6 separate regions of the Homo sapiens genome follow, and regions 1, 2, 4, 5 and 6 are each linked to region 3. The links are contacts of gene promoters, found by promoter capture Hi-C in human tissues and cell types (Jung and others, 2019). All regions are on one chromosome and are shown on one strand. Each heading gives the region's core, a stretch centred on a gene start or on the middle of the fragment in contact. The rest is flanking DNA. Distances are from core to core; before and after follow the strand shown. Region 1 overlaps WBP2NL (WBP2 N-terminal like). Region 2 overlaps TCF20 (transcription factor 20). Region 3 holds the start of MEI1 (meiotic double-stranded break formation protein 1). Region 4 overlaps SEPTIN3 (septin 3). Region 5 has its middle 15 kb from the start of NAGA. Region 6 has its middle 32 kb from the start of WBP2NL.

Region 1 (4,333 bases), core at 1,421-3,920, 310 kb before region 3:
AACAATACACTATTAAATAAATGAGTCAAAGAAGAAATCAGAGGGAAATTAGAAAGTACCTAGAGAAAAATGAACATGAAAACACAACATACCAAAGCTTATGGGTTGCTGTAAATGCAGTGCTAAGATGTTTATAGCTGCAGATGTGTACTTTAATAAAGAAGAAAGATCTCAAATCGACAACCTAACTTTATGCCTCAAGGAACTAAAGAAAAACAAATGAAGCCCAAAGCTAGCAGAAAGAAGAAAATAATAAAGATTAGAACAGAGATAAATAAAAGCGAGAATAGAAAAAAATAAGAAAAAAAATTTAAGTTCAACAAACTTGACAAACTCTTAGCTAGATTAAGAAAAAGAGAGAAGTCTCAACTAAAATCAGAAATGAAAAAGAGGATATTAAAACTGATGCCAGCCAGGCATGGTGGCTCAGCCTGTAATCCCAGCACTTTGGGAGGCCAAGGCAGGTGGATTACTTGAGGCCAGGAGTTTGAGACCAGCCTGGCCAACATGGCGAAACCCCATCTCTAGTATAAACATTCAAAAAAATTAGCCAGGCATGGTGGTGGGCACCTGTAATCCCAGCTACAAGGGAGGCTGAGGCAGGAGAATCACTTTAACCCAGGAGGCAAAGGTTGCAGCGAGCCAATATTGCACGACTGCACTCCAGCCTGGGCGACAGAGTAAGACTCTGTCTCCAAAACAACAACAACAAGAAAAACAACAACAACAACAACCAAAAAAAAAACTGATGCCAAGGAGTTACAAGGATTAAAGAGAAAACCAAGGACAATTGTATGTCAAGTTGGATAACCTAGAAGAAATGGATAAATCCCTAGAAAAACACAACCTACCACACTGAATCATGAACAAACATAAAATATAAACAGACCAATTAACTAGTAAGGAAATTGAATCAGTAACCAAAAACCTCTCAGCTAGGTGTGGTGGCTCATGCCTTTAATCCCAGCACTTTGGGAGGCTGAGACAGGAGGATTGCTCGAGGCCAGGAGTTTCCGACCAGCCTAGGCAACTTGAAAACCTCATCTCTACAAAATATATAAAAAAAAAGTTGGGTGTGGTGGCACACATCTGTAGTCCCAGCTACTCGGGAGGCTGAGGTGGGAGGATCACTTGAGCCTCGGAGATTGAGGCAGCAGTAAGCTGTGATCATGTCACATCACTGCACTCCAGACAGGGTGACAGAGTGAGAACCTGTCTCAAAAAGAGAAAAAAAAACCTCTCAACAAATTCTATTATACAAAACGTTTAAAGAATTAACTAATCTTTCTGAAACTCTTCCCCAAAATTAAAGAGGAAGAAACACTTCTAGGCTTACTTTATGAGGCCAGCATTACCCTGATACCGAAGCCAGACAAAGAAACTACAATAAAATAAAATTGCAGGTCAGTATCTCTGATGAATATTGATGTAAAAAATCCTCAACAAAATACTAGCAAACCAAATTCAGCAGCACATTAAAAGGACTATACACTATGACCAAATGGGGTTTACTCCTAGAATGCAAGGATGGTTCAGCATAGGAAAATGAATCAATGTAACACACCATATGAACAAAATGAAGGGAAAAAACCATGCGATCATCACAATCGATGCAGAAAAAGCATATGAAAAGATTCAGTATATTTTTGGCCAGGCGTGGTGGCTCACGCCTGTAATCCCAGCTCTTTGGGAGGCCAAGGCGGGCGGATCACGAGGTCAGGAGATCGAGATCATCCTGGCTAACACGGTGAAACCCCATCTCTACTAAAAATACAAAAAATTAGCCGGGTGTGGTGGTGGGCGCCTGTAGTCCCAGCTACTCAGGAGGCTGAGGCAGGAGAATGGCGTGAACCTTGGAGGCAGAGCTGGCAGTGAGCCGAGATTGCGCCACTGCACTCCAGCCTGGGCAACAGAGCGAGACTCCGTCTCAAAAAAAAAGAAAAAAAAGAAAAGAAAAGGTTCAATATATTTTCATGATAAAAACACTCAACAAACTAAAAGTAGAAGGAAGCTACCTCAACATAATAAAAGCCATATATGAAAAGCCTGCAGCTAACAGCATACTGAATGGCAAAAGACTGAAAGCTTCCCCTCTAAGATTAGAAACAAGGCAAGGATGCCTGCTTTCACCACTTCTATTCGACATAGTATTGGAAGTCCTAGCCAGAGCAATTAGGCAAAAAATAAAATAAATAAATAAATGGTATTCAAATTTGGAAGGAAGAAGTAAAATTAACTCCGTTCACAGATGGCGTGATCTTATATGTAAATAAACTTAAAGAGTCCACCAAAAAGCTGTCAAAATAAGTGAATTCAGTAAAGTAGCAGCATATAAAATCAACCCACAAATATAGTTGCATTTCTATACACTAATTATGAATGATCCAAAAAGGAGATTAAGGAAATAATTCCATTTACAATAGCATCAAAAAGAATAAAATACTTAGGAATAAACCTCACCAAGGAGGTGAAAGGTTTGTACACTGAAAACTATAAAACATTAGTGAAAAATATTGAAGACATAAATAAATGGAAAGATATCCCATGTTCATGGATTTGAAAACTTAATAAGGCTAAGACGTCCAGGCTACTCAAGTGATTCAGAGATTCAACACAATCCCTACCAAATCTCAACAACACTTTTTGCACAAACAGAAAGCGACATCATAAAATTCATATAGAATCTCAAGGGACCCCAAAAAGCCAAATAATTTTTAAAAAGAAGAACAAAGAGGATTCACACTTCCTGATTTCAAAGTATATTACAAAGCTACAGTAACCAAAACAGCATGATACTGGCATTAAAGATAAACAAACCAATGGACTAGAATAGAAACAAATCTTCACATATATGTGAGAATTGATCAAATAATCTTCAACAAAGGTACTAAGATGACTCAGTGAGGAAAAGACAATCTATTTAACAAATGATGTCCTTTTAGAAAACTGGATATCCACATGCAAAAGAATGAAGTCATACCTTTATCTTACATAGTATGCAAAAATTAACTCAAAATGGATTAAAGACTTAAACATAAGACCCAAAACTATAAAACTCCTAGAAAAAAACATACTGAAAATCTTCGTGACATTGGACTTGTCAATGACTTCTTGGATAAAAAAACAAAAGCACCGGCAACAAAAGAACAAATAAATAAATTGGACTATATCAAACTTAAAAATTGTGTATCAAAGGACACAATCACCAGAATGAAACAGCAACCTATGGAATGGGAGAAAATATTTCAAATTGTATTTATGATAAGGGCTTAATATCTAGAGTATGTAAAGAGCTCCCTGTAATCCCAGCACAAGGCCAAGGTGGGTGGATCAACTGAGGTCAGTAGTTCAAGACCAGCCAGCCCAACATGGTGAAACCCTGTCTCTACTAAAAATACAAAAAAATTGGCCAGGCCCAGTGGCTCACGCCTGTAATCCCAGCACTTTGGGAGGCTGAGGCGGGTGGATCACAAGATCAGGAGATCGAGACCATCCTGGCTAACACGGTGAAACCCCGTCTCTACTAAAAAATAGAAAAAATTAGCCGGGCGTGGTGGTGGACACCTGTAGTCCCAGCTACTCAGGAGGCTGAGGCAGGAGAATGGTGTGAACCTGGGAGGCGGAGCTTGCAGTCAGCCAAGATCGTGCCACTGCACTCCAGCCTGGGCAACAGAGCGAGACTCCATCTTAGAAAAAAAATAATAAAAAAAATTAGCCAGGTGTGGTGGTGGGCACCTGTAATCCCAGCTACTCAGGAGGCTGAGGCAGGAGAATCACTTGAACCTGGGAGGCAGAGGTTGCAGTGAGCTGAGATCGCACCATTGCACTCCAGCCTGGGCAACAAGAGCAATAATACACAAATGGCCAATGAGCATATAAAAAGATTGTCATTACTAATCATCAGAGAAATACAAATCAAAACCACAATGAGACATCACTTTATACCCATTAGGATGGTTAATATTTAAAAAACCAACAGGTCCAGGCATGGTGGCTCATGCCTGTAATCCCAGCACTTTGGGAGGCCAAGGTGAGTGGATCACTTGATGCTAAGAGTTTGAGACCAGCCTGGCCAACACAGCGAAACCCCGTCTCTACTAAAAATACAAAAAACTGGGTGTAGTGGCATATGCTTGTAATCCTGGCTACTCAGGAGGCTGAGGGCATGTGAATCACTTGAACCCCGGAAGCTAAGGCTGCAATGAGCCAAGATCCTGCTGCTACACTACAGCCTGAGTGACAGAGTGAGACTCTGTCAAAAAAAGGGAAGGGAGGGGAGGAGAGGGGGAGGGGGAGGGAGAGGGAAGGGAGGGAGAAAGGAAAGGAAAGGAAA
Region 2 (3,968 bases), core at 601-3,100, 490 kb before region 3:
GCAGGTAAAAGCAGCCCCACCTTATGTTCAGTGAGCACTTGTGTAAGTGCTGGGAGGCATGGTCTATGGATACTGTGAGGTCTGTGTAAGTGTGGAGAAGCTACACCTAACTCGGCCAAAGGGAGGGCTGAGTCAGTAAGGCCTCAGAGGCCTGCCCTCCCCATGTGGCACTTGGACCTGCCACTACTAGAGTGACTTGGGGGGTTTGAAGCGTGAGTGGCAGGGGAAATAGGCACATGTCAAGAACCACACTCTGCTGCTTTGCCAGTCTCCTCCACCATGCCCTGTGAAACTCACAGTCCACCAAGAGCACTCTCTTAGTTCTCTGCTCTGAACAACCACTTTGCCTGGCTTTCTCAGTAACACCATCTACCGCTACCCCCGCCCCCACCCCACACTCTCCCAGGCAGAAGCAGAGTCATTAGTATTTAGCCCTCTCACTGTGGGCCAAGTGACAACTTGTTCCTTCACTAGGGTACATCAGGACAGGGATAAGCGTTAAGCATCCCTGGTAGAGACCTGAGGAACATTGTGCAAGGCGGCCGGGGTTGTTGATAGTATCTGTATCAACTACTAATGTTTTAGTTTCGCCTCCTGGCAGGGCGAGGGTTTTAGCAGTGCCACAGAAACCGTTCTTCATTGAAGCAAATCATCTCCCAATAATGGAATCTCACTAACTTGCTGACCCAGCATTCTGTTCTCTCAGACCTACCTCATCCCTTCCCACCTTTGGAAAAAAGCTCCATTTAAGGTGAATATGCCAACAAAAAATCTTGTTGCTCAGCTCCAGAAGATTCTCTGTTTAAGATCTTCCAAATTAGCTGTAGAGAACCCCAGGAAATGATCCAGCCACATAAAGACTCACTTTTCCCACGGACCCCCAAGGAGCTCTGAAACCACCAGCAAACACCCAGTTGTTGCCTTTAGCTCCTTAATTTGACTTGGGAACTCTGAAATCCCTTAGTCATTGGTGTATTTTCAGACAATTTCAATAATCTGACCAGTCCCATCCTCTACTTGTTGCTTTTTTCTAATCTCACTCTTGAAAGAAAAGTCATGTGATAGAACCACCTTTTATTATACGACCACCACACTGCCCAGAGACAAGGCCCAAAGGAGAGCACAGAGGCTCTTGAATTTACTGGACGGTCTTTGTTGGCAAAGAGTCATAATTATAGAATCTTTTAGGTCATATTTTATCCTTCATCCAGACATCTGTAGGAGTTGGCTTCTTGGGAAACTATAACATCACTTAGCCCCTAAGCTGAATTTCTTAACCTGTAAAATGGAGTTAATAACTGGACTGCCTTGTCAAGGTGTTGGATAAATGAAATCTGTCCTAACAATAGACACTTAAATCTTGGGCCTGGGCATGGTGGCTCACATCTGTAATCCCATCACTTCAGGAGGCTGAGGTAGGAGGATTGCCTAAGCCCAGGAGTTTGAGACCAGCTTGGGCAACAAAGTGAGATGCCATCTCTACAAAAAATAAATCAGCCAAGTGCAGTGGTATGCACCTGTGGTCCCAGCTACTAAGGAAGTAGAGGCAAGAGGATTCCTCTAGCCCAGGAATTTGAGGTTGCAGTGAGCTCTGATTGTTCCACTATGAGTACAGTGGCACAATCAAAGCTCACTGCAACCTCAAACTCTTTGGCTTGATGAATGAGTGACAGAGCGAGACCCTATCTCAAAAAAAAAAAAAAGTGTAGGTGGAGGAGGAGGAGATGTATTGAGGAATTATGCAGGATTTCTAAACTTGGTTATATTACTTCCAGATCTCTATTTTCTTCATGGAGACTCTTGGAGTTTCCTTTTCTTTTTTTCCTTTTTCCTTTTCTGTTGAAATGAGGATTGTACTCTTGCTGAGTATCTTCCTAATCTGGTAGGAATCTTCTGAAACAGAAATGTAGAAGAAAATTTCCATATCTATGAAGATGAATTGAACCAATAGTTCTAAAACTTTCTTGAGGATAAGAACCTGGGATGCTTCCCATTCAGTCTCTTCTGGGACAGTGTCCTCAGTCTGTGTTTTTTAACTCAAGCTTAGGACCATGCTGGTGCAGGTGGCAGAGTTACCCTTTGAGAAATGCAAAAATCAATTCTGAAAACTGAAGGTTCATAAGCTAGTCACAGATTTGGGTGCCAAAGTTTCCATTCTAGTGTGGACGTAGTTTTTCCTTCCAGTAGGTTTCCAGGAAGAAAAGGCCCCGGTTTGAGCATGACCTGTGGGAGTGACCTGAAATGAGATGTGAGACTATGTCTCATGTTGTTGCCAAATTAAATGACCCCACTGAAGCTTGGCTGAGAGGTGGCAGGGGCTGGCTTAGGATTTGAGGACCAGTGATCCTGTGGTAGTTTCATTGGCATTAGCTTCAGTATATCAAGATATCCTCGTTTTTGAAAGTTCCTTTCTGCTGGGACTCTGCTATTTCCTGAGCCTCCAGTGTCTGTCCTGTCAGGCTGCCCCTGCCTTTGAAAAACTTGCCACTTCCAGGAATAGGGTGGCTTTGCCTGACAATACCTCAACCTGTTTGAGAAGATGGACAGGCGAGAGCGTTGGTGAGATGGCAGTGGCTCCGGGTGCGAAAGAGGAAGGTAATATGAATGCAAGTAGGAAGAAAGGAGTAAAAATGAGAAAGACCTCCAGAGCCAAGTGTTTGGAACAGCTTTGGAGATTTCCGCTTCAGTATGATCTTCACAGATTTGAAATCTTGTTAAGGGAGTCCTATTGTGGCAGCAGGTTTGTCGTTTCTGCACTGAAACTGTAAACATTTCAGTATGGGTGCCTTGTGAATAAGCAGCTTCCAGTAATTGGCTTTCTGGAAGCACAGACCCAACTCCTGGGTAGGATGAGCCATGGAGAGAAGCAGCTTACACCAAGAGTCACTTCCCTGGAGTGTAATTTCTTTAAAAAGATGCCTTTTTAGATTCAGAAAGCACAAAATGTAATCATTTCTCTTTATAAGCTAATCCACTGTTTGAGCAAAGGGTAAAATAAAAATAAGCTAGTGCAAGACCTTGTGCAACTTCAATTTCAGTGTTTCAAACTATGTAAGTATTTCTCTCCCTGTACTTGAGAAAAAGCTCTTCTCTTTCTTCATCACAGGGCTGCCGCAGGTCTCCTACTCCTGCTGGGTTCAGCCTTTTCTCAGGTTCTCTGCTTTTATTCAGAGGAAAAGTGCTAATCAATGGCTTATACCTAGTCCTGGACTCTAGCACTCTGTGCCCTTCCTTTCTAATTTCTTAAAGGGCACAAGCTCCTTTTAACATAGGAAAAACTCCGTTAGACAAAATATATAAGGTTTTCAGCACAGTGGCAATTTTCTTTTGGGGCTATAAAAGAAACCCTCTGATTAGGATTATTTTAATGGAGTATATATAACTGTAGATAAGATAAAATGCAGGCTGGGTGCAGTGGCTCATGCCTGTAATCCCCGCACTTTGGGAGGCCGAGGAGGGTGGATCACCTTAGGTCAGGAGTTCGAGACCAGCCTGGCCAATATGGTGAAACCCCGTCTCTACTAAAAATACAAAAGTTAGCTGGACGTGATGGTGGGTGCCTGTAATCCAGCTACTTTAGAGGCTAAGGCAGGAGCATCACTTGAACCCGGGAGGTAGAGGTTTCAGTGAGCCAAGATCTCGTCACTGTACTCCAGCCTGGGCAACAGAGTGAGACTCCATCTAAAAAATAATAATAAAATGCAAACTGTGTTTCAGAAAAAAAGGCAAGTTTGGTTAGCACAAAGAAACATCATTAGTGACACCTGTGTTGGCCTTCTGAGTTATGAGACTTCATATTAACATTATAACAAACTACGTATACATTTTGTGCAAGAGAAAAATTACTAAACCAGGCCTTCTTGAGTAATGCTTTAATTTTCCAGAAGGGGGACATAGATTGGATTTAACTTAAATTGAGGCAAATGGATGTATTTTATTTGGGAAATTGTTTTTTGTTCCTCCTTTGT
Region 3 (3,724 bases), core at 1,217-3,716:
CTGGGTTTCAAACTCTTCAAGTAACTGTCCTCAACCTGTCTCTCCAATCTCATCTCTTTCACTTTCCCTTCAAACACTCTGATTATCCCCAAAACCCATCCTTATAATACCTACCTCCTGGGATAATCAGCCTCCCACTTCCTCTGGTCCAAATCTCACCCATCTTCTTAAACCTAATTTGAATGCTTCCTCCTCTAAGAAACCTTTCCTAATTCCTCTCCTTACCCTGAACAGCACTTGACTACAAACATGTTCATTCTTCTAAGTTCTAACATGTTCTCTTATTTCTCCCCGCTGCACTGTCTTATTCATCTCTGATTTACTGTCCAAGAAAAGCAGCCTCAGAATTTCCATCCTTAATGAAAATTCAGAGGTTATTAGCTAGTTTACGAGTTCCCAGAGCACAGTGTGGGAATTCCTAAGGGTGCCTAAAACACTTCCCAGAGGTCCACAAGAACAAAAATATTTTCATATAATATTAAAATGTTCTTAGTCTTCCTCATTTTTTTTTAAATTTTTTCCATGTTGGCCAGGCTGGTCTTGAACTTCTGGCCTCGTGATCCAACCACCTCGGCCTCCCAAAGTGCTGGGATTACAGGTGTGAGCCACCGGACCCGGCCCAGTCTTTCTCATTCTTATTCTCCCACAAGTGTACAGTGGAGTTTTTGAGACTATATGACATGATAGCACAACAGACTGAATGCAGAAATAGATAAAAATCCAGCTGTTTGGCCGGGTGTGGTGGCTCACGTCTTTAATCCCAACACTTTGGGAGGCTGAGGCAGGCAGATCACCTGAGGTTGGGAGTTCAACACCAACCTGACCAACATGGAGAAACCCCGTCTATACTAAAAATACAAAATTAGCTGGGCGTAGTGACGCATGCATGTAATCCCAGCTACTCGGAAGGCTGAGGCAGGAGAATCGCTTGAACCCGGGAGGCGGAGGTTGCGGTGAGCTGAGATTGCGCCATTGCACTCCAGCCTGGGCAACAAGAGTGAAACTCCATCTCAAAAAAAAAAAAAAAAAGAAAGAAAGAAATCAAAATATTTGAGAACGCAGCCAGGCACGGTGGCTCACAGATGCAATCCCAACACTTTGGACTTTGGGAGGTCAAGGCAGGAGAATTGCTTGAGACTAGGAGTTCAAGACCAGCCTGGGCAACACAGGGAGACCCCCGGGACCGTTTCTACAAAAAAAAAAAAAAAAAAAAAAAAAATTGAGAACTGCTGATCTAGCCAATCCACCCACTCACGAATTCCCCTCCCATGAATTGGAGAGAAACTTGACCTCCCAAAGTCTTCTTGGATGCCTCCATGGACAAGAAAACTCACTGCAGGTCGGGCACCGTGGCTCACGCCTATAATCCCAGCACTATGGGAAGCCGAGGCGGGTGGATCACCTGAGGTCAAGAGTTCGAGACCAGCCTGGCCAACATGATGAAACTCCGTCTCTACTAAAAATAGAGAAATTAGCCGAGCGTGGTGGCGGGAGCCTGTAATCCCAGCTACTGGGTAGGTTGAGGCAGGAGAATCGCTTGAACCCAGGAAACAGAGGTTGCAGTGAGCGGAGATGGCGCCATTGCACTCCGGCCTGGGTGTCAGAGCGAGACTCCGTCTCGAAACAAACAAAACCACTTCATTGCAAACGCGGTAGGCAATGAGGACCCAGGCAGCCCGCTTTGGCCAGCTCTGCCCAAGGAACAGTCTTCCCGTTCACCCCCACTTCTGCCCGGCTGTAACCTGTCACTCCTGTCCCCTCGGAGCCCAGACTGCCCCTCCTCCGATTCACACCCCGACAGCTGAAGGGAATGAGGAGCGGCCGCCGCATGCGCCCCTGGCCCGCAGGTGAGTGGAGGCTGAAATGGCGGGAGGCTGAAATGGCGGGAGCCTGAGCTAAGGCCGAATCCCCGGGAAATGGAGGCAGGGGCAGCAAAGGGAAGGAGCCAGAAGGCGGAAGGCGGGAAGGTGTGTCCCTGAGACTGGGTGAGGTCCCGGGGGATCCGGATTTCCGTCCTTTCAGGCGCAGAGCCAGTGGACCGGGCTCCACGGAGGCCCGCAGGCCGGCCTGGGGCTGAGGGGCCCGAGAGGCCGCTGCGGCCGGGTCCGGGACGGGCTGACAGGGAGGAGAGTGAACACAGCGCGGGGGCCCGGTTTCGCGTCGGGTTCACCGGAGCGGGTCTGGCAAGGGCCTGGCCGCGTTTGCTGAGGGAAATGGCCAAACCCAGGTCTTCTGAAGAAAAGGTTCCGCCCGCACCGACACGCCGGGGTCCGGCAGCAGCTCCAGCGCGCAGGCCAGGCACAGGCGGGGGGTCACGGGCAGCAGCCAGCGCGGGTCGTGCCGGTAATGGGCCCTCTCGAATAGAAGCGCCGCCTCTTCCTCTCTCCTGGGCCCGGGAGTGCCCGCCGTCGCCGCCTGCCTCACAGCCATCTCCTCGCTTGCCCTCAGCTGAGGCGGCACTCTTTCCCGCGCAGACTGCACGCATGCGCACTTGGAGGACGGACCTGCGTCGGTGTGGAATGCGCCTGCGCGGACCCAGGGCGCTGCAGTCTCAGACGAGCAGCAGCCACTGAGGGCAAGTGGTGGACGCAAGTGCTCTGGATCGTGTCTAGCTAAGCCAAAAGCGGTTTGTGCTTAGAACCCTGCAGGAATGTCTTTACCACATCCAAAGTTGAAAAGCAATTATAAAGTAGGGGGCATTTGCCTTGAAAAAGGAAGGAAAGGAAGCTATTTCTACTGTTTTTTAAAAATGAAGGCCGGGCATGGTGGCTCACGCCTGTAATCCCAGCACTTTGGGAAGCCGAGGTGGGCGGATCACGAGATCTGGAGATCAAGACCATCTTACCCAACATGGTGAAACCCCGTCTCTACTAAAATACAAAAAATTAGCTGGGTGTGGTGGCAAGTGCCTGTAATCCCAGCTACTTGGGAGGCTTGAGGCAGGGGAATCACTTGAACCTGGGAGGCGGAGGTTGCAGTGAGCTGAGATTGTGCCACTGCACTCCAGCCTGGCGACAGAGCAAGACTCTATCTCAAAAAAAAAAAAAAAAAGGAAAATAAGCGATCCCAAGGATTCGCATCTAAAAGCAATTAGAGGCTGGGTGAGTTGGCTCATGCCTGTAATCACAGCACTTTGGGAGGGAGGCTGAGGCAGGAGAATCACTTGAACCTGGGAGGTGGAGGTTGCAGTGAGCCAAGATCGCACCACTGCACTCCAGCCTGGGTGACAGAGGAAGACTCCATCTTAAAAATAAATAAATAAATCAGAAGCTTAAGACCAAAAAATAAAAGTAAAAAAACAAAACAAAACACCAAAGACAGAGAGAAAGAAGTTCAAGACCAGCCTGAGCAACAGGGCGAAACCCCTCCTCTACTAAAAATACAAAAATTAGCTGGGTGTGGTGGCTCATGACTGTAATCCCAGCTACTCGGGAGGCTGAGGCAGCAGAATCGCTTGAACCCAGGAGGCGGAGGTTACAGTGAGCGGAGATCAAGCCACTGAACTCCAGCTTGGGCCACAGACCTACACTCCATCTCAAAAAAAAAAAAAAAAGCGTCCCATGCAGAGGACCACCCCTCCCCATAAGCAGCTGAGGCTTTTGGAGTGTCCTGCCTCAATCAGGATTAGCTTGGAGACAGAGCAGGATAGAACCTCAGTGGACTCCACTGTGAGGAGCTGGGGGGCAGGTGTTTCGGAGAGGACACTGGGTTGACCCACATTCCC
Region 4 (4,151 bases), core at 1,600-4,099, 290 kb before region 3:
TCCCACCTCAGCCTCCAGAGGAGCTGGGACCACAGTTGCGCACTACCATGTCTGGCTAATTTTTAAATTTTGTGTAGAGACAATGTCTTGCCATGTTGCCCACGCTGGTCTTGAACTCCTGGACTCAAGCAATCTTCCTGCCTCGGCTTCCCAAAGTGCTGGGATTATAGGCGAGAGCCACCGTGCCTAGTGTGTACATCTTGTTCTGCCTATCAGACTACTTCTTGACAGGTCTCCTCCTAGCCCCCAGAGTTAGTCCTGCAGGGCCAAACTGGAGGCCTTGCCCTTCCCACAATCTGACAGTCTATGCCCCCATCCTACCTCAGGCTCTGAGACCCCAACTTGGCTCTATTTTGCAATCTCAGGGACTCACTAAGTCAGTCTGTCTGATGGTTCATTCTGACCAGGGGGTCGAAGCCTAGGGAGGGATAAAACCAGCCTTCTGTTGAGTTCCTGGGTCTAGCCCAGGGGTCTTGTTTCATCTCTCTTCTCCCCCTACCATCACTGCCTGGTTCCTAGAAAATTTGGGGCTTACCTTGCTTGTGCCATCCTCTGAAGAGCTTAACTCTGGCCCAGCAGCTGGGCTTAGTAATGTTATGGGACCCCCCTCCCCCGGTCTCTGCAGGAAGGTTTCTGGCCTGCCCCCTAGGATCTCCATCCTCTGCCTGTTCCCAGCACTTCCTTCATGGGGCCCACCTGTCACTCACAATCAGAGTTCCCAACATGCTTGTGTGTGTCTTATTCTGCCTATCAGATAGTACTTCATGACAATGGTTGGCCTTCATCTCTGAACACACAATGCCTCACTCCAGGCTGGTACCTTCTAAATGCCTACAACTGGGTCCCTACCCTCCAAACACCAGCCCCAATCCAGGAGCCCTGCACTGCCCTATTTCACCCTTCTTGCTGCTCCCTCCGACTCCAATTATTTTCCAAAGCAGGTATTTGGTGAATAAATGAAGTGCCCTCTGCTCACATTCACCAAGTCCTCTTTGCTGATACAGTTGTGCCATGCTGCTGGGACACCAGTGGGCAGATATTGGTGGCTGATGTTGGACAGCTTTAACCTCCTAGCAAGAAAGTCAAACTTCCTCGTGGAAAGTCTAGGGAATCCCAAGGTCATGGGCCATGACTATGTACCAACCCATCTGGCTGGAAGGGCTAGGACTCAGCTAGGGAGGCCTAGCTGAGTCAACGTATGGATCATCCAATCCAGATGGGCACAGATGATACAAACCAGACCAGGCCTGACAATAGGGGTAGGGTTGGTACATACGAGTGTCCTGTGGGAGAGATGAAGTAAAGGCAGCAGTGGACACGAGTGTCAGGGATGCGTTTCTTCCTGGCGATGTTGACCTCCTCCTTCAGGAACTTCTCGTACTGCTCATTGATGTACTTCTCAATGGGCTCCCAGCTGATGGGGAGGGAAAGTAGATAGATGCATCAGAAGAACAAGACCTAGGGCTCAGCTTAGGCATGATCTGGTAGCAATCTCCTTACATTCATGTCATTCCCTGGTTGGTGGGCCTAGGATACCTGCTGCCAGATTCCCCCTCAGCCCCCGCACCGATGGCTTTCCTGGATGGTTAGTTAGCAGGGGTGGAGCTCCCCAGGGGCCCTGGCCTGGGCTGTCGGGAACTACAGAGCATGGAGGGTGCAGATGGTTCTCAACGTGAATGAATCTGCACCATAGTAAGTATCTTCCCAGCAGAGTCTTTAGGGCAAAGATCTCAGAGGCAGACAGATACCAGTTTTCATTGTTGATTTGGTCTCCAAAGCCTGGGGTGTCGATGACGGTCAGCTTCATTTTGACACCGCCTTCCTCTATCACTGGGGGTGAAAAGAAAATGTACCAGAGAGGTCAGTCCTACAGCTGACCCCAGGTACCTGGCAGCCTACTAGCCAGGGAGACCCAGGCCTTGTCTTCAGGATCAGTTATTGGAAAAGTCAAATTTAGGGTCTTTTCCATCTCGATATCATGGCTTATGCTGTTCCCTGTACCTGGAATCTGGAATACCCTCTCTACTCATTTCTTTTTCTTCTTCTTTTATTTTTTTTAAGAGACAGGGTCTCACTCTGTCACCCAGGCTAGAGTGCAGTGGTGCAATCACAGCTCACTGTAGCCTCGAACTCCCCAGCTCAAGTGATGCTGTCGCCTCAGCCTCCCCAATAGCTAGGACTACAGATATGCACCATCATACCCAGCTAATTTTTTTTTTAAGAGACAGGGTTTCGGGCCGGGCGTGGTTGCTCACGCCTGTTATCCCAGCAGTTTGGGAGGCCAAGGCAGGCGGATCACGAGCTCAGGAGATCAAGACCATCCTGGCTAACACAGTGAAACCCCATCTCTACTAAAAATACAAAAAAAATTAGCCGGGCGTGGTGGCGGGTGCCTGTAGTCCCAGCTACTCAGGAGGCTGAGGCAGGAGAATGGCGTGAACCCGGGAGGTGGAGCTTGCAGTGAGCCGAGATCGCACCACTGCACTCCAGCCTGGGCGACAAAGCAAGACTCCGTCTCAAAAAAACAAACAACAAACAAACAAAAAAAGAGACAGGGTTTCACTGTGTTGACCAAGATGGTCTCGAACTCCATGACTCAAGCGATCCTCCCACTTTGGCCTCCCGAAGTGCTGGGATTACAGGCATGAGCCACCGTACCTGCCCACTCCTTACCTCTTTCTACCTGTCTAAATCCTGTACTTTATCATCCACCTCAAATCTCACCTCCTTCCATTCGAGCTCCCTGCTCTCTCTTCCCTGAACCTGCAGTCTAAGGAGTTTGCTTCAGAGTGAAGTGCTCACGTCTGTTTTGTCTTAAGGTTGCCTTTTATTGATCTTATTCTTCAATAAGCCCCATTCTTTCCCCTTTCCAGCAGAGGCACTCACTGAACAAAGCCCATAGGGGTCCCTGCCTGGTCCTCACCATGCCCGATAGCTTTGATCTCCACTGTCTTGGGGATCTTCTCCTCCCGGTTCCAGCTGGAGGCCTTGCGGCTCACTTGGGATTTGAAGAGCGTGTTGACCAGCGTTGATTTGCCCAGTCCACTCTGGCCTACAGCAAAGCAGGAGGAGGAGGTAGGGAGACTCTGCATCCACCTCCTGAGCCTAATATTTCTCCATAAGCTTACAGAATTCTAGAGCCATGATCCAGGCCACACCTTGTCTGACCACTCACTGGGGGATGGCCAGGCTGAGTGGGGATTGCAGGCAGGTGGGAATGGCTTCCTGCTTACTGCAGAGGGCCTTGGGGAAACATCACTTGGATTCCATATTCTCTCCTTCCCAGAGCCACAGGACCACTGGGAAAAGGGACAACCTCTGCATATGTCTAGTGTCGTGGTTTTCTGTTTTCTCGTGATTCCATTTTTTGCTTAGGTTTTCACTTTTTAATGATACTAAAAGGAAAAATAGAATGACTTTGCATCCTGATACTGCCTCACAGTGCATATTGTACATTCACATTTGTTAGCCAAATTCATTTTTATATCAGCCCTGTGGATCCTGAAGCAGAACTATCTTTATCCTCAGTTGAGATGGTCCTAGAGAGATGAATCCTCTTCTAACAAAATATGTGCAGAGCAACATAACTAATACATGCAAGACCAGGAACTCAAACCCTAATAACATCTTGGCTCTATATCCACTCTTTCTTCTAGTGTAGTGGTTTTTAGATTGTGCTCCCAGAAGCCTTAGTGTCCTGTGAAGATACATGCCAGAGAGGGCACTGTGAGAGGAGGAGGAGGCTGGGCAGGCAGGGCCCCTGCATCCACTTCCTTCGCTATGGCTCCCTTTCACCTGTTTTCCAGATGCATATCTGCAGAAGATTTCATTTCAAGGAAAAGTTTCACAGCTAAAGAACATTTGAAAACCACTGGTCAGGCCGTTTGCCGTGGCTCACACCTGTAATCCCAGCACTTTGGGAGGCCGAGACAGGCGGATCATGAGGTCAGGAGGAGATCGAGTCCATCCTGGCTAACACGGTGAAACACCGTCTCTTCTAAAAAAAATACAAAAAATTAGCCCGGCGTGGTGGCAGGCGCCTGTAGTCCCAGCTACTCAGGAGGCTGAGGCAGGAGAATGGCATGAACCTGGGAGGCAGAGCTTGCAGTGAGCTGAGATCGCGCCACTGCGCTCCAGCCTGGGCGACAGAG
Region 5 (4,228 bases), core at 1,652-4,151, 360 kb before region 3:
CCGGGCGCGGTGACTCATGCCTGTAATCCCAGCACTTTGGGAGGCTGAGGTAGGCGGATCACAAGGTCAGGAGATTGAGACCATCCTGGCTAACACGGTGAAACCCCATCTCTATTAAAAATACAAAAAATTAGCCGGGCATGGTGGTGGGCGCCTGTAGTCCCAGCCACTCGGGAGGCTGAGGCAGGAGAACAGCGTGATCCTGGGAGGCGGAGGTTGCAGTGAGCCGAGATGGCACCACCATACTCCAGCCTGGGTGACAGAGCCAGACTCCATCTCAAAAAAAAAAAAAAAAAAAAAAAAAAAAAAAAATATATATATATATATATATATATATATATATACATACACACACACATATATGTGTATATATATATATATATATATGACCTTAATACAATTTTCCTATCTAAAAAAACATAATTTTAAAATAATCTAATAACCAATCTATGTTCAGTTTTTGCCAGTTGTCTCAAAAATCTCTATAGTTTGTCTAAATCAAGATCCAGTAAAATAGTCCAGTACGAACTACTGAAAGTTTGCTCCCTTCATAAAAGCATTGAAAAACCTGCCACATACTATCAAAATCAACTTTCACAGAACTCTGGAAATTAGCCAAAAGCTTGCGGCAACCCAGAAAACTTCAACTGAAAAAAAAAAAAGTTGAATTCTAGTAGAAACAGCAAGCTATGTGGTATTTTACCTTATTACCAGATTTTAAATCAGCTATTTTAAACATGTTCAAAGAGCCAAAGGAAGCCGGGTCTAAAGAAATAAAGGAAAGAATAAGAATGATGCCCAAACAGAATAACAAAGAAGAGATAAAACTGTAGTGGGGAAGAAAGCACAAATTCTGAAGTTGGAAAGTACAATAGTTGAAATGAGAATTCACTGAAGAGGTTTAATAATAGTAGATTTGACAGAAAAAGAATCAGCAAACTTGAAGACAGATCTGTTGAAATTAACCTCTCTGAGAAAAAGAAAGAAACAAGAATGAAGAACAATGAGCAAAACTTCTAAAACCTTTGGGATACCACCAAATGTACCCATATACACATAAAAAAAGAGAAAGGGGCAGAATATTGGAAGAAAGAATGGTTGAAAATGTCTCACATTTGATGGAAAATATTAATCTACCTATCCAAGAAGCTCAGTGAACTCCAAGTAGGTTAAACTCAAAGAGCTCCATACCTAGACATATCATAATCAAACCCTCAAAAGACAGAATTTTGAAAGAGGCAAGATAAAAGCAACTCATCACACAAGGGAGTCTCAATAAGATTTACAACTGACTTCTCATCAGAAACCATGGAAACAAGAAGGCAATGGGTACATTTAAAAATAACTAAGTATAATTGGATTGTTTGTCACAAAGGATAAATGCTTGAGGCACTAGATACCCCATTTTCCATGATGTGATTATTACAGGAATGCAATGCCTGTATCAAAACATCTCATGTACTCCATAAATATATACACCTACTATGCAGCCACAAAAATTAAAAATGAAAAAAAAGGCAGTGGGTTGACATATTCAAAGTGTTGAAAGAAAAAGACTATGAAAAAATTTGTTATTTGGCCAAACTATCTTTCAAAAATGAAGGCAACATGAAAACATTCCCAGATAAACAAAAACAGAGTTCATCTCTAGCCACCCTGCCCTACATAAAATACTAAAGGACATCCTTCAGGCCAAAATGGAAGGAAACTAGTAACTTGAATCCACATGGAGAAATAAAGAGCACCAGTAAATGGAACTACATAAGTAAATATAAATGATTTTGGTTTGTAACTCATTTTTTGTCCCCATCTGATTTAAAAGGTAACTTAAATGCAGTAATTATAAACTAAGATGGGTAGACTATGTATAAAGATGTCATTTGTAACAATAACAGCATAAAGGAGGAGGGGAACAGCTATATAAGAAGCAAAATTTTTGTATACAAGTGGCATGAATTAGTATTAATCAGAATGAGATAGTTCAGAATAAGATGTTAATGGTAATCCCTATGGCAACCACAAAAAAACTTTAAAAATCTAGTAAATATATGATAGAGATAAAATGGTACAAAATAAAATGTCTAACACAAAAAAGGCAGTAATGGAAGAAATGTGGAACAAAAGAGACTTAAGACATAACACACAAATAGTAAAATGACAAATGTATAAACCTTATCAATAATTACATGTAAATGGATTAAACATAGATCGACAGAATGCATTTAAAAGATACACACCCAAGTGCACACACAATCCAAAAATGTGCTTTGTTTAAGAGACACTTTAGACTCAAAGACATAAGTTGGAAGTAAAAGGACAGAAAAAGATACACCAAGCAAATGGTAGCAAAAGTACTAGGGTTGGGGGGAGGGTCTATGTTAATATCAGAAAAAGACTTTAAGACAAAAATTGTTACTAGATCCAAAAGATTTTATAAAATTGAGAAGATCAATCCACCAAAAAAGATATAATTTTACACATTAGCATACCTAACGAGTCCAAATATATAAAGCAAAACCAGACACAATTGAATACAGAAATAGATAATTCAACAATAAATGTTACCAATTATATTACCAATACTAATTATAAACCAATTAGACCTAACAGACATTTACAGAACATTCCACCCAATAGCAGCAGAATATACATTCTTCTCAGTACAAATGAAACATTCTCTAGGACAGACCATATGTTAGGCCATAAAATAAGTATCACTAAATTGTAAAAGACTGAAATTGCCAGGCACGGTGGCTCACACCTGTAATCCCAGCACTTTGGGAGGCCAAGTCGGGCAGATCACCTGAGGTCGGGAGTTCCAGATCAGCCTGACCAACATGGTGAAACCCCATCTCTACTAAAAATACAAAAATTAGCCAGGCTTGGTGGCAGGCGCCTGTAATCCCAGCTACTCTGGAGGCTGAGGCGGAAAATCGCTTGAACCCTGAGGCGGAGGTTGTAGTGAGCCAAGATCGCGCCACTGCACTCCAGCCTGGGCGACAGAGCGAGACTCAGTCTCAAAAAAAAATTAGCTGGGCATGGTGGTGGGTGCCTGTTGATGCAGGAGAATCATTTGAACTCAGGAGGCAGAGGTTGCAGTGAGCTGAGATCACACCATTGCACTCCAGCCTGGGTGACAGAGCAAAACTCCATCTCAAGAAAAAAAAGAAAAGAAAGAAAAAGAGGACACACACTTTCAATTTCAGTATCTACCAAAAAGCTACAGTAATAAAAACAGTGTGGTACTGGTATAACAATAGACATACAGTTGAGAGTCCAGAAATAAACCCATACATCTATAGCTAATTGATTTTTTTTCTTTTTTAGACACCAGGTCTCACTCTGTTGCCCAGGCTGGCGTGTACTAGTGTGACATAGCTCAGTGCAGGCTTAAACCCCTGGGTTCAGGCGAACCTCCCACCTTGGCCTCCCAAAGCACTGGAATCAGAGGCATGAACCACTGCATCCAGCCAGTTAATTGATTTTTTTTTTTTTTTTACAAAGGTACTAAGACCCTTCAATTAGAAAATAGTATTTTAAATAAATGGCACTGGGACAACTAGATATCCACATGTAAAAAAAAATGAATGTAACTCAAAATGGTTAAAAGACCTAAATGTAAGACTGAAAACTATAAAACTCTTAGAATAAAACATAAGTATAAATCTTAGTGACTTTAGATTATGCCACAGTTTCTTAGATAGGACACTAAAATCAGAAACAGGCTGGGTACGGTGGGTCATGCTTATAATCCCAGCACTTTGGGAGGCCAAGGCAGGTGGATCACCTGAGGTCAGGAGTTTGAGACCAGCCTGGCCAATAAGGTGAAACCCTATCTCTACTAAAAATACAAAAAAAAAAAAAAATTACCTGGGCATGGTGCCATGCGCCTGTAATCCCAGCTGCTCAGGAGGCTAAAGCAGGAGAATTGCTTGAACCTGAGAGGTGGAGGTTTCAGTGATCGTGCCACTGCACTCTAGCCTGGGTGACAGTGTGAGACTCTGTCTCAAAAAAAAAATTTTTTTTTTAAATCAGAAGCAATCAAAAAAAATAGATAAGTTGGACTTGATCAAAATTCAAAACTTTTCTGTGTCAAAGTATACTATCCAGAAAATTAAAAGAGGCCCCGCACAGTCGCATACACTTGTAATCCCAGCACACTGGGAGGCTGGGATGGGAGGATCACTTGAGGCCAGGAGTTCAAGAGCCTGAGCAACATAGTAAGACC
Region 6 (4,340 bases), core at 1,135-3,634, 330 kb before region 3:
AGCAATACTTGGGCAGAGGTGCCACTTGTCCACAGAGGTTTCTGGCCAGAAAAGTGACACCCCAAAGATACCATAATATTAATAATTAATACCCTGTTTTATTATTTATAATAAATTCTAATTACTAAAAATTACAAGTTTCTTATATTGGCTACTAAATCATACATCTAAACTAATCAAACTGCTGGTCACATCTGTATAGACCCTTTCCCTTTGACAGAACCCCTTCTTTCTAATCCATTTAGGAAGCTTCAAAGAAAGTTTATTCTCTAGCAGTCCATGGTTGTCTGCCCCACCCTCTTCAGGCTCCAGAAGACTCTCAAGGCAAAGGCCAGGAAGAATATCATACGTTTCACTTCCTACCTGACAATGAGGTAATCTGTGTAACAGAATAAATTTTTACATTATTAATTTGAATTGGGCTTCTACATTTTATATATATACATACATGATTTTCAAGCAAGCAACCAAGTGCTAGGCAAGGAAAGCCAAGTCAACATGAAGGCAAAGGCTTTCTATTACCTTTTGGGTAAACCCAAATCCTGAGATTTGGATTAGGATAGATGCTTAAGAGATAGAGGTGATGCAGACCAACAGCACAGCTGAGAGGGCAGAATCTGGAAGTTTAAGGAATTGTCAGACTCTCAAGGATAAGGAGGCCTTTGGGGTCCTACTCCCCAGTTCTAAGGAGCAATATGGTACACAGAGTTGGATCTCTGACACCCTGGTTCTAAGCCCTACCTAAGATTCTGGGGTCCCAAGGCAACAAGCTTTTAGACTTGACGGGACTGCCAGGACTGGATAGTGGCTGTTTCAGAAGCAGTCTGATGACCAGAAGAAACTTCTCAGCATCTTGGTGCCAAATAAAATCTGGATACCTTTGCATAATCTTAGGATTTGTGAGAAGCCCACCAACAAAGCAGATGGTGGTGGGGATCTTGGTAACAGAAATAAATTTACAGAAAACAAAGACATGCAATATTTCTTGAACATATTAATCTATGGATTGAAAAATCGGCCAGGCACAGGCCGATGCCTGTAATCCCAGCACTTTGGGAGGCCGAGGCGGGTGGATCACTTGAGGTCAGGAGTTCGAAACCAGCCTGGCCAACATGGTGAAACCCTGTCTCCACTAAAAACACAAAAATTAGCCGAGCATGGTGGCAGGCACCTGTCATCCAAGCTATTCAGGAGGCTGAAGCAGGAGAATCGCTTAAACCTGTGGGGCAAAGGTTGCAGTGAGCCGAGATCGCGCCACTGCACTCCAGCCTGGGGGACAGAGCCAGATTCTATCTTGAAAAAAAAAAAAACAAAAAGAGGAAAATCACACCAACTATATGTTTTTGTCCTGATATCTCAGGGTAGCTGAGCCAGGAAGGTTCTGCTCCAGCAGGCTGGGGAGCATCCACTTACCCATGAAAAGGAGTATTTGGAGGCTCATTTTAGGGGCCAATACCAGATAGTCCAGGACTAAAAGGTCTTCTTATTTCTATCCCTTTATATTTCTAATAGGAAATGAAAGAGTAGACAACAGAGTATAGTTTCTGTATTGCAGCTGGGGAAGAGACAGGAAGAGCGGAATCCACCAGCACAGTGAGTGAGTCAGAAAGAAAGTACTCAAAACGTCAGTGAGGAGCTGAGGAACTCAGCACATGAGTGCTCTCAGCATGCAGAAGGCTCAGCTGAATTCTGACTGGATTTGTCCTCAGCAAAGCAAAAACCAGGGTCCTTTGAATATACAGGACACAAAGCTCTTCTTATAGAACAAATTGGACTGAGCCTTTGGGGGAAACAACTGTACCAGACAGTGGGAGCTAACTAACAGTAGGTGTGCCACGCAGCACCACGTGGGTCCAAACTGTGGCTCCACTTGGTTCTATCCTTACACAGTCACAGCCTTTGGTTGTACTGGGGCAGTTTGGTGGACCAGGTAAACAGGTACCCTTTGCACAGGAGAACATGGTGGAATTCCACCTTTAAGAAACTCGAACCTGCTACGCTTTTCAGGTAACTGGACCCCACCTCAAATCTACCTGGTACAAGTATAACTAACATGAAGAGCAGAAGAGAAGTCTAGTTTGTATTCTTTTAGAATTCTAATCCCCAAATATTTGCCAGAGATCAGTTACTCGGAAAACTTTCTGATATAAAAAAGGCCTCACCCATTCACCCTGTTCTCAACTTACCATCACATTCCAGCAGACACTGAAAAGCTGAACAAGGGAAACCTTATCCCTGCTCTAGTTGGTTGAGTCTCTCCTCTCTTCCTCTCATCACTGTTGCCCACGTACTGTAGTTTGGAAGTAAGAAAAGAAGAAACTTAAAATATCTCGTTATTTTCCTCCAAAAATTTTAGGGATAAAAGCGCCAGATCCTATGACCCATGTTTAAGATCCAATATTGCCTGGATTCCCTGTTTGGAAACTTTAGAGAGGTTTACAGCCACACTTTCCCTTTTCACTTCTTCCCTTCATGCCAGTTGCCTGGGCAAAGTGGCTGTCCCTGTGTTTTGACATTCCAGCTTCCTAGACCCATAACTCTATCCCAGTAATTTCTGAGAGGAAGCAGCAGCTACTTTCTATATATTTTATCTTCAAGATGTCCCACCCTGCTTTCTGTAAATTGGATATAAAGCTCTTTTATTTGGAATGGAAGGAAGAATGGTCTTTTGACTTGTCTTCATTTTTGGAAAGAGCTTTAAGGTCTAGCATACTCCAGATACCTGAAGTCCATTCTAATTCTAATATCCCATAATTCCAGAAAGTGTTTCTCAGTTTCTTCCACTGAACAAAATGTTTACTGAATATTCTAAAATCAAATAATTTTGAAAAAACTGTAAATTTTGAAAATCTCTCCTTCTTGGAGATTATGTCCATTAGTATAGTCAAGGCTCTAAGAAGTAGTAAAGAAACCAGTTTTCTTGTCTTTTTCAATTATATTTAACCCAGTTACTCCATTTCACATAAAACCCATTAATATCTACCTGACTTCCTTAAGAAAGGCTGTCCTTGAGAACATGGGAGCATCTGGTTTCCTAATTTTCACAATGCAGATCAATCAATGACTCTAAGCTGTGTTAAGGAAAGCATTTAAAACTTTTAAAAAGCTCCATATACAAAGAAGTTAATCATGAAGTTGTAATAACAAAAACCTGGAAACAATTCAAATACCTTAAAAGAGGGACTGAGAAAATACGTTATGGTGTAACTGTGTCACAGAATATTATGTGGTCACTAACAATATTTACAAGCATTTCTTCAAAACCTATGAAAATGTAAAATATCTGGTGAAACATTATATAGCATGATTTCAACTACATATAAGAAATATGCATAGAAGGCCAGGCGCAGTGGCTCATGCCTGTAATCCCAGCACTTCAGGAGGCTGAGACAGGAGGATTGCTTGAGGCCAGGAGTTCAAGACCAGCATGGCCAACATGGCCAGACCCCATCTCTATAAAAATAAAAAAAATTAGCTGGGCATGGTTTTACCTGCCTGTAATCCCAGCTACTCAGGAGGTTGAGGCACGAGAATTGCCTGAACCTGGGAGGTGGAGGTTGCAGTGAGCCAAGATTGTGCCACTGCACTCCAGCCTGGGTGATAAAGCAAGACTCTGTCTCAAAAAAAAAAATGCATAGAAAATATATTGATTTAAATGTCTTCTGGGTCAAGTGCACACCACAACACCTGGCTTTTTTTTTTTTTTTTTTTTTTTCCTAGACACAGGGTCTCGCTATATTGCCCAAGCTGGTCTTGAACTGGCCTCAAGTGATTCTCCCACCTTATCCTATCAAAGTGCAAAGTGCTGGGATTACAGGCATGTGCCACCACACCTGGCTACTAATGTATTTTTAAGGCCTCCCTTTTAGGTGGCTTGATGAGCCTACAATAAGATAAGGAAAGGCCAATGAAATTAAGAACTTTGCCTGCCTTGCCAGAGTGGGAGAATGGTGAGCTCTGAAGGGGCTGAAAGCCTTGAAACAGTCTAGAATAGTGGTCCTCAGCAGGGATGGTACTGCCCCCCAGGGAGCAATTAGGAAATAAGTGGGAGCATTTTTGGTTATCCCAATTGGAGGCCATTATTGGCACTTAATGGGTGAGGAGTCGAAGATGCAAGACATCCTGAAACGTACAGGGCAGTACCTTAATTGTCCTATGTCTCCTGACTTTCAAATGGCTCTCCAGCCAGTGATGTAGGTGAAGCATGTTTATAATCATTTGAGCCTACAGCCTAACTCTGTTTTATATGACTTTAATATATACAGAAATTTTCAGGAATTCAACCACTGTGTAAATCAAGGGAAGACTAAACTTTGTTTTATTTGGAAAATTTTCAAAGG

What was found. The method cuts DNA at HindIII sites, captures the fragments that hold promoters and counts their contacts. A contact is called where the count stands out against the background at its distance.
Region 1: a fragment that was not itself captured here is called in contact with the fragment with the promoter of MEI1 in region 3 in 1 of the 25 tissues and cell types used here (dorsolateral prefrontal cortex).
Region 2: a fragment that was not itself captured here is called in contact with the fragment with the promoter of MEI1 in region 3 in 3 of the 25 tissues and cell types used here (dorsolateral prefrontal cortex, mesenchymal stem cells and mesendoderm cells).
Region 4: a contact is called between a fragment that was not itself captured here and the fragment with the promoter of MEI1 in region 3, in 1 of the 25 tissues and cell types used here (dorsolateral prefrontal cortex).
Region 5: a contact is called between a fragment that was not itself captured here and the fragment with the promoter of MEI1 in region 3, in 2 of the 25 tissues and cell types used here (mesenchymal stem cells and mesendoderm cells).
Region 6: a fragment that was not itself captured here is called in contact with the fragment with the promoter of MEI1 in region 3 in 2 of the 25 tissues and cell types used here (dorsolateral prefrontal cortex and mesenchymal stem cells).

The regions. Positions count from the first base shown.
Region 1 is chr22:42,008,153-42,012,485 of GRCh38, reverse strand. The region is part of intron 1 of WBP2NL (WBP2 N-terminal like); the gene reads right to left. Among named protein-coding and RNA genes, the nearest start is that of WBP2NL, 12 kb to the right of the region's middle. The HindIII fragment of the contact is 3,157 bases long and covers 1,092-4,248 here.
Region 2 is chr22:42,191,024-42,194,991 of GRCh38, reverse strand. The region is part of intron 2 of TCF20 (transcription factor 20); the gene reads left to right. Among named protein-coding and RNA genes, the nearest start is that of CYP2D6, 62 kb to the right of the region's middle. The HindIII fragment of the contact is 3,881 bases long and covers 1-3,790 here.
Region 3 is chr22:41,698,245-41,701,968 of GRCh38, reverse strand. MEI1 (meiotic double-stranded break formation protein 1) reads right to left here and starts at 2,466. Exons shown (of 31, transcript NM_152513.4): 1 at 2,257-2,466. The coding sequence starts at 2,430. RefSeq lists a silencer at 2,394-2,493. The HindIII fragment of the contact is 9,130 bases long and covers 1-3,578 here.
Region 4 is chr22:41,984,885-41,989,035 of GRCh38, reverse strand. It overlaps SEPTIN3 (septin 3), which reads right to left. Exons shown (of 12, transcript NM_001363845.2): 4 at 2,924-3,052; 5 at 1,749-1,830; 6 at 1,277-1,414. Among named protein-coding and RNA genes, the nearest start is that of WBP2NL, 12 kb to the left of the region's middle. The HindIII fragment of the contact is 7,491 bases long and covers 1-4,151 here.
Region 5 is chr22:42,053,986-42,058,213 of GRCh38, reverse strand. It overlaps a transcript of WBP2NL not described here. Among named protein-coding and RNA genes, the nearest start is that of NAGA, 15 kb to the left of the region's middle. The HindIII fragment of the contact is 5,927 bases long and covers 1-4,228 here.
Region 6 is chr22:42,028,670-42,033,009 of GRCh38, reverse strand. It overlaps a transcript of WBP2NL not described here. Among named protein-coding and RNA genes, the nearest start is that of WBP2NL, 32 kb to the right of the region's middle. The HindIII fragment of the contact is 3,748 bases long and covers 511-4,258 here.